Regions from separate parts of the Homo sapiens genome. Here region 1 is linked to region 2. The links are contacts of gene promoters, found by promoter capture Hi-C in human tissues and cell types (Jung and others, 2019). All regions are on one chromosome and are shown on one strand. The core of a region is centred on a gene start or on the middle of the fragment in contact, and the rest is flanking DNA. Distances in the headings are between cores, read along the strand shown.

Region 1 (4,366 bases), core at 1,051-3,550, 60 kb after region 2:
AGAAACCCTATAAATGCAAGCAATGTGGGAAAGCCTTCAGAGCTGCCTCAGTCCTTCGAATGCATGGTAGGACTCACCCTGAAGATAAACCCTATGAGTGTAAGCAATGAGGGAAAGCCTTCAGATCTGCCTCACACCTTTGAATGCATGGTAGGACACACAATCAAGAGAAACCATGAATGTAAAGAATGTGGGAAACCCTTCAGGTCTGCCCAGAACCTTCGAATTCAGTAAAGGACACAAGCACACATAAGAATGCATTCTGGATAGCTGAACAAAAGGCAGCAGAAACTTCTGCAGACTTAAATGTCCCTGTCTGACAGCTTTGAAGAGAGTAGCAGTCCTCCCAGCATGGAGTTTGAGATCTAAGAATGGACAGTCTGCCTCCTCAAGTGGGTCCCTGATCTCCAAGTAGCCTAACTGGGAGGCACTTCCCAGTAGGGGCCAACTGACACCTCATACGGCCGTGTGCCCCTCTGTGACGAAGCTTCCAGAGGAAGGATCAGGCAACAACATTTGCCGTTCTGCAATATTTGCTGTTCTGCAGCCCCTGCTGGTGATACCCAGGCAAACAGGGTCTGGAGTGGACCTCAAGCAAAATCCAACAGACCTCAGCTGAGGGTCCTGACTGTTAGAAGGAAAACTAACAAACAGAAAGGACAACCACACCAAAACCCATCTGTACATCACCATCATCAAAGACCAAAAGTAGATAAAACCACAAAGATGGGGAGAAACCAGAGCAGAAAAGCTGAAAATTCTAAACATCAGAGCGCCTCTTCTCCTCCAAAGGAACGCAGCTCCTCGCCAGCAATGGAACAAAGCTGGACTTTGACTTTGACGAGCTGAGAGAAGAAGGCTTCAGATGATCGGTAATAACAAACTTCTCCAAGCTAAAGGAGGATGTTCGAACCCATCACAAAGAAGCTAAAAACCTTGAAAAAAGATTAGACAAAATGGCTAACTAGAATAAACAGTGTAGAGAAGACCTTAAATGACCCGATGGAGCTGAAAACCATGGCACGAGAACTATGTGATGCATGCACAAGCTTCAGTAGCTGATTCAATCAAGTGGAAGAAAAGGTATCAGTAATTGAAGATCAAATGGATGAAATGAAGTGAGAAGAGAAGTTTAGAGAAAAAAGAGTAAAAAGAAATGAAAAAGCCTCCAAGAAATATGGGACTATGTGAAAAGACCAAATCTATGTCTGATTGGTGTACCTGAAAGTGACAGGGATGGAACCAAGTTGGGAAACACTCTTCAGGATATTATTCAGGAGAACTTCCCCAACCTAGCAAGGCAGACCAACATTCAAATTCAGGAAATACAGAGAACGCCACAAAGATACTCCTCGAGAGGAGCAACTCCAAGACACATAATTGTCAGATTCACCAAAGTTGAAATGAAGGAAAAAATGTTAAGGGCAGCCAGAGAGAAAGGTCGGGTTACCCACAAAGGGAAGCCCGTCAGACTAACAGCGGATCTCTTGGCAGAAACTCTACAAGCCAGAAAAGAGTGGGGGCCAATATTCAACATTCTTAAAGGAAAGAATTTTCAACCCAGAATTTCATATCCAGCCATACTAAGCTTCATAAGTGAAGGAGAAATAAAATCCTTTACAGATTCAAATGCTGAGAGATTTTGTCACCACCAGGCCTGCTGTAAAAGATCTCCTGAAGGAAGCACTAAACATGGAAAGGAACAACCGGTACCAGCCACTGCAAAAACATGCCAAATTGTAAAGACCATTGAGGCTAGGAAGAAACTGTATCAACTAACGAGCAAAATAACCAGTTAACATCATAATGACTGGATCAAATTCACACATAACAATATTAACCTTCAATGTAAATGGGCTAAATGCTCCAATTAAAAGACACAGACTGGCAAATTGGATAAAGAATCAAGACCCATCAGTGTGCTGTATTCAGGAGACCCATCTCACGTGCAGAGACATACATAGGCTCAAAATAAAGGGATGGAGGAAGATCTACCAAGCAAATGGAAAACAAACAAAAAAAGCAGGGGTTGCAATCCTAGTCTCTGATAAAACAGACTTTAAACCAACAAAGATCAAAAGAGACAAGGCCATTACATAAAGGTAAAGGGATCAATTCAACAAGAAGAGCTAACTATCCTAAATATTTATGCACCCAATACAGGAGCACTGAGATGCATAAAGCAAGTCCTTAGAGACCTACAAAGAGACTTAGACTCCCACACAATAATAATGGGAGACTTTAACATCCCACTGTCAACATTAGACAGATCAATGAGACAGAAAGTTAACAAGGATATACAGGAATTGAACTCAGCTCTGCACCAAGAGGACCTAATAGACATCTACAGAACTCTCCACCCCAAATCAACAGAATATACATTCTTCTCAGCACCACATCACACTTATTCCAAAATTGACCACATAGTTGGAAGTAAAGCACTCCTCAGCAAATGTAGAAGAATAGAAATTATAACAAACTGTCTCTCGGACCACAGAGCAATCAAACTAGAACTCAGGATTAAGAAACTCACTCTAAACCACTCAAATACATGGAAACTGAACAACCTGCTCCTGAATGACTACTGGGTACATAACAAATGAAGGCAGAAATAAAGATGTTCTTTGAAACCAATGAGAACAAAGACACAACATACCAGAATCTCTGGGACACATTTAAAGCAGTTTGTAGAGGGAAATTTATAGCACTAAATGCCCACAGGAGAAAGCAGGAAAGATGTAAAATTGACACCCTAACATCACAATTAAAAGAACTAGAGAGGCAAGAGCAAACACATTCAAAAGCTAGCAGAAGGCAAGAAATAACTAAGATCAGAGCAGAACTGAAGGAGACAGAGACAGAAAAAACCCTTCAAAAAATCAGTGAATCCAGGAGCTGTTTTTTTGAAAAGATCAACAAAATTGATAGACCGCCAGCAAGACTAATAAAGAAGAAAAGAGAGAAGAATCAAATAGATGCAATAAAAAATGATAAAGGGGATATCACCACCGATCCCACAGAAATACAAACTACCATCAGAGAGTACTATAAATACCTCTATGGAAATAAACTAGAAAATCTAGAAGAAATGGATAAATTCCTGGACACATACACCCTCCCAAGACTAAACCAGGAAGAAGTCGAATCCCTGAATAGACCAATAACAGGCTCTGAAATTGAGGCAATAATTAATAGACTACCAACCAAAAAAAGTCAAGGACCAGATGGATTCACAGCTGAATTCTACCAGAGGTACAAAGAGGAGCTAGTACCATTCCTTCTTAAACTATTCCAATCAATAGAAAAAGAGGGAATCCTCCCTAACTCATTTTATGAGGCCAGCAACATCCTGATACCAAAGCCTGGCAGAGACACAACAAAAAGAATTTTAGACCAATATACCTGATGAACATCGATGCAAAAATCCTCAATAAAATACTGGCAAACCAAATCCAGCAGCACATCAAAAAGCTTATCCACCACGATCAAGTTGGCTTCATCCCTGGGATGCAAGGCTGATTCAACATATGCAAAGCAATAAACGTAATCCATCATATAAACAGAACCAAAGACAAAAACCACAAGATTATCTGAATAGATGCAGAAAAGGCCTTCGACAAAATTCCACAGCCCTTTATGCTAAAAACTCTCAATAAACTGGGTATTGATGGGATGTATCTCAAAATAATAAGAGCTATTTATGACAAACCTACAGTCAATATCATATACTGAATGGGCAAAAACTGGAAGCATTCCCTTTGAAAACTGGCACAAGACAGGGATGCCCTCTCTCACCACTCCTATTCAACATAGTGTTGGAAGTTCTGGCCAGGGCAATCAGGAAGGACAAAGAACTAAAGGGTATTCAAGTAGGAAAAGAGGAAGTCAAATTGTCCCTGTTTGCAGATGACATGATTGTATATTTAGAAAACCCTATCATCTCAGCCCAAAATCTCCTTAAGCTGATAAGCAACTTCAGCAAAGTCTCAGGATACAAAATCAATGTGCAAAAATCACAAGCATTCCTATACACCAACAACAGACAAACAGAGAGCCAAATCATGAGTGAACTCCCATTCACAATTGCTTCAAAGAGAATAAAATACCTAGGAATCCAACTTACAAGGGATGTGAAGGACCTCTTCAAAGAGAACTACAAACCACTGCTCAACGAAATCAAAGAGGACACAAACAAATGGAAGAACATTCCATGCTCGTGGATAGGAAGAATCAATATCATGAAAATGGCCATACTGCCCAAGGTAATTTGTAGATTCCATGCCATCCCCATCAAGCTACCGATGACTTTCTTCACAGAATTGGAAAAAACTACTTTAAAGTTCATATGGAACCAAAGAAGAGCCCA
Region 2 (4,442 bases), core at 1,015-3,514:
GGAACTATCATTTAGGGTCTGTGGGATTCTAGGACACTAGGTATGAAACAAATATGAGGAAGGTCAGAGAACAAGCTGACTTAATGATTAATGCTGAAGGTGCTGCCAGCTTGGTTTAAGTTTTCCTCCTCCCTTCCTCCCTGATGAATTTGATAAAGTTTAAAGGGATGGTTTCACCAGGGGCCTTTTACATTGACAGCAAGGAGGTCATCCGCCTGGTAAATCCTCAGTAGTCCAAGCCTCTTACATGGCTAGAATGATCCAGTCCATAAGGAAACGTCACCACCCTCTGTGTTTTACAATTAGACCATCCAAGGGGGTCAGGGTTTCCCCAGGGAATTTGGTGGGATTTTTTTTTTTTTGAGACCGTGTCTTGCTGAAGTACAGTAGCCTGATCAAAGCTCACAGCAGCCTCAAACTTTGGGGCTCGAGTAATCCTCCTGCCTCAGGCTCCTGAGTAGCTGAGACTAAGGGTACACACCACCTCTCCAGGCTAATAAAAAAAAAATTATGGAGATGGGAGTGTCTCACTTCACTGCTCAGGGTGGTCTTCAACTTCGGGCTTCAAGTGATCCTCCCACTTTGGCCTCCTAAAATGTTGGGATTGCAGGTGTAAGCCATGGCACCCGGCCTCCCAGGCTGTTGTTGAAAGGTCTTTGCAATCTCTAAGAGTTCTGCAGCAGTTTATTCCCTGACAGTGAGAGTCTCATCCTTTCACCCCATTTTGCAGCAGTAGTTGGGTGTTCACTTTTCTTTCCATAAGGAAGCGAGCTTGCCAGTGACCCTCATCCCCCTCCTCATCGATGACTTCTTTGTCATCAGAGCCTTCCTCTTCATAAATTCCCACGGAATCCAAGTTTTCACGTCCCAAATTATGATAGCCACAGGCCCTCACCAGCTGCCATAGCACCCCATTTCATGGAAGCCACCTGACTCTTCTTTGAGCATCCTGTCCCAGGAGCCCCCATCTGTGCTCTCCCGGGCTCCAGGCCCTAGAGCCGCGCTGCTGCAGAGCCCAGTTCCCAGGGCTGCTCCCTCCACGTATCCACATCCATCTCCAGCTTTCCACCCTTTCTCTGACCAGACAGGCCTGGAGGTGCTGCAGTGTCAGTGACCGTGGGTCCCTCCGCTGCCACCTCCACCGCGATCTGGAAGTCTTTTAAATGTACTTAAGTTATCTTAGAATTTTCCTTCCCCACTTTATACATAAACATAGGAGGAGAGCAGGGACTCTGCTGGTGTCTTATTCACACAATGGGATTGAGGGTGTTTGTGTCATGGAACTGATCAATGGGGTGAGAAGTAGCTGAATAACCTGCAGGGGCAGCAGAGCCCGAGGCCAGTGACTCCACGCTGAGGCCAGTCTGGAGCCTGCAAAGGAAGGGAAAGGAGCTTTTCCTGGGGGCTTCCTGGGCAGCCCGCCCTCCCCTACAGGTGGCCTCCAGCTGCTCAGAGCAGCTCCAGAAGGAGTGTGGATTCCGAGAAGCTGTAGGGCCCTGGAAAGCAGAAGACCTTCGTGCAGACGCATTTGTGGGGTTCTGTCCTTTCTGGTGTTGTACCTCTGGAGCCTGGGGCTGTCTTCTGGGCAGGGTTTGGGGTTTGACATACATGGGGTCGCTGGAGTCAGAGTTATTTGTATATATAAAGAAAATGTGTGAAAATCAGGCTAGAGACACAATTGTTTGGTGGCGTCACCTGGATAAAAGGTTTATGAGGTTGACAGTTTATTTAGGTCCGAAGCTTAACCCCAGGTGAGAGTTTCCTGCAGGTGAAAATGAAGATCTGGAAGGACGGAGCATTTTCATACTGTGAGGAGGGGATGGGGGTGTGTGAGCAAGTCTTGGCCATGCCTCATCCCCAATTCCGGCCCGCTCGAGGAAATATGCCTCTCCTCCTGGTGCAGTCTTGCCTGGCCTGGTCTCGGTTCCCCTGCTGCTCTGAGGCAGGAGATGGCTCCTGTGGACACTGAGTCTGAAATTCCCTGCACACTCCTGTGACCCCGTGCAGAACGAAGGAGCGGGGACAGTCCTTTGAGTGAGGAAGACGCTAGTGTTCTCTTCTAACAATAGCAAGTTTGGCTGAAATGCAACTATCCAATAACCCGAGTGCAGGAAGCAGCTCGTGTAAGCTTAGAGAAGCTGTTGCTAGAATCTGTCAGTCTGGCTCCGCAGGGCCTGATACCCAGGGCTTCCGCTGTCACTTAGACGTGGGGGGCGGGGCCGAACATTCCATCCAATCAGAGGCACTGGCTCGGGGCCCTGCCCACTGTGCATCCAGGCACGGAGGATGTTGCATTCCTGCCGTCACCTTTGTCGCTGCGAGGGCGGCGGTTGGGATCTGGCCTTTCCAGCCCCGAGAGGGACCTAGTGCCTCTACCCAGATTTCTGTCGCTCTGTCACCTGCGCTATGCCCTGCTTTACTCACAGGAGCTGTAGAGAGGACCCCGGTACATCTGAAAGCCGGGAAATGGTGCGTGTGCTGGCCGGGAGTGGTGCGATGGGGGAGGGGCTGCCTGGAACTGGCGGGACCCGGGCCTCCCTGTGGGCGACTCCGGGGTCTGGGACCGAGTCCTCCTAGAGCTGCTCGGCCCTCGGTCCCCGCGGCCGCTGGATGTGGGTGGGCCGGCAGCCGGGACTCCGGGCGTCCTGTCCCGTCCCTGCCCGTCGACTGCGGCCTTGGCCCCGAAGCCCTTTTGTGCAGCTCCGCGCCCGCAGCCCGACGCCCCAGCTTGTGCGGGGGCCACGGGAGGGTCATGCGCGGATTTCGACTCGGGTGTGGATTTCGTCCGTAGGAGGAGCAGCGGTCTGTGGGGCCCACAGCCTCCACTTTCTCCTGTTAAAAATTATACTGAGGTACGTTAACAAAAAGTTCATTTGAGGAAACAGCCATTCACGAATGAGAAACACCCGGTCCTGGCTTGTGGTTTGTCAACGGAAAAAAAACAGACTATGTAAAATACAGAAGTGTATTCAGAGCCGAGTAGGAGAGACCTTGGCCGAGGGAAACACAACCCCAAGCAGCCTGGAGTAAGTGGTCCGGAGGCGGCTCAGGACAGTTTGGTTTTATTCATTTCAGAGAGACAGGAATTGCAGGGAAAATGATGGATCAAGGCTGGAAGGTGTAAATTCCATTGGCAGAAAGGGTGGGACCTGTGGAAGGGGGGTTAGGAGGCACAGGTGGTTGAGGGATTCTGTAGGTGGCAGCTGGTTGAGAGTGTGAAGCTTTGTCTAAAGTTTGGAGGAGGTAGGAAGGAATGCTGAAGGAAGGGGGTCTGTTATCTGCCACTTCATTCCATCCCAGCCAAAAAACAGTCCTGTTTCTCTAGATTTTATGAATTCTAAGACGTAACTTTACCTTTGCCTTGCGTGGCCTTAGGTCTTGTTTGTAATTTGGTATCTTGTTGCCACAAGGAGTCTGTTTTTCCAGTCAGAGAATGTCTGTTTTTACATGAATGTGCGTCAGTTGCTGCATGTAAACTCCTAAAGGGAGAGGGTATAAGGAGACCTGTCTCACCTCCCATCCTGTCATACAGAGGCACTCAATTTTCAGGGTGTTTTGGGGGTTCCCTTGGCCAAGAGCCAGTCACTTCACTTAGCTGGGAAGGTACTTTGTTTGTTTTTGTTTTTGTTTGAGACGGAGTCTCCTTCTGTCGCCCAGGCTGGTGTGCAATGGCTCGATCTCGGCTCACTGCAACCTCTGCCTTCTGGGTTCAAGGGATTCTCCTGCCTCAGCCTCCTGAGTAGCTGGGATTACAGGCACGCACCACCACCCCCAGCTAATTGTTGTATTTTTAGTAGAGATGGGGTTTCACCATGTTGGCCAGGCTGTTCTCAAACTCCTGACCTCAAGTGATCCACCCCCCTCGGCCTCCCAAAGTGCTGGGATTACAGATGTGAGCCACATCGCCATGCCAGAAGATATGTTTTTATTTTTGTTTTACATGTTTAAGGCTAGGCTTTTATAAGGTACATGAGGAGACAAACCAGATAAATGCTTGATTGGTTGCAGAGATGCAGTCGCCTTATTTGGACTTGTCAACCGGAAATAATCAAAAGGTTCAGATTTCAGTTGGAAGAGTTTATTCAAGCAGAAAGATAGCAATGACCAAAACACAGACTCCAGAAAAATGGACTCAGTACTCCAAAATTGGAAGTTATGTTCTTGCTTATATTACTGAAAAAAGAGGTCCTGATCAGACCCCAAGAGAGTTCTTGGATCTCACACAGGAAGGAATTCAAGACGAGTCACAAAGTGCAGTGCGAAGAGAGTTTATTGAAAGCTACTCTGGGCCAGCATGATGGCTTAGGCCTGTAATCCAAGCACTTTGGGAGGCCCAGGCGAGAGGATCACTTGAGCTCAGGAGTTCGAGACCAGCCTGGGCAACTTAGCGAAACCCCGTCTCTTCCAAAAATAAGAAAAATTAGCCGGATGTGGTGGCCTGT

The links. Contacts are between HindIII fragments. The study calls those that stand out against the background at their distance.
Region 1: a fragment that was not itself captured here is called in contact with the fragment with the promoter of ZNF439 in region 2 in 3 of the 25 tissues and cell types used here (bladder, mesenchymal stem cells and pancreas).

The regions. Positions count from the first base shown.
Region 1 is chr19:11,905,989-11,910,354 of GRCh38, forward strand. It overlaps ZNF69 (zinc finger protein 69), which reads left to right. Exons shown (of 4, transcript NM_001364730.1): 4 at 1-708. The coding sequence ends at 110. Among named protein-coding and RNA genes, the nearest start is that of ZNF700, 17 kb to the right of the region's middle. The HindIII fragment of the contact is 5,350 bases long and covers 1-4,366 here.
Region 2 is chr19:11,846,462-11,850,903 of GRCh38, forward strand. ZNF439 (zinc finger protein 439) reads left to right here and starts at 2,265. Exons shown (of 4, transcript NM_001348719.2): 1 at 2,265-2,469. The coding sequence starts at 2,407. The HindIII fragment of the contact is 2,018 bases long and covers 1,935-3,952 here.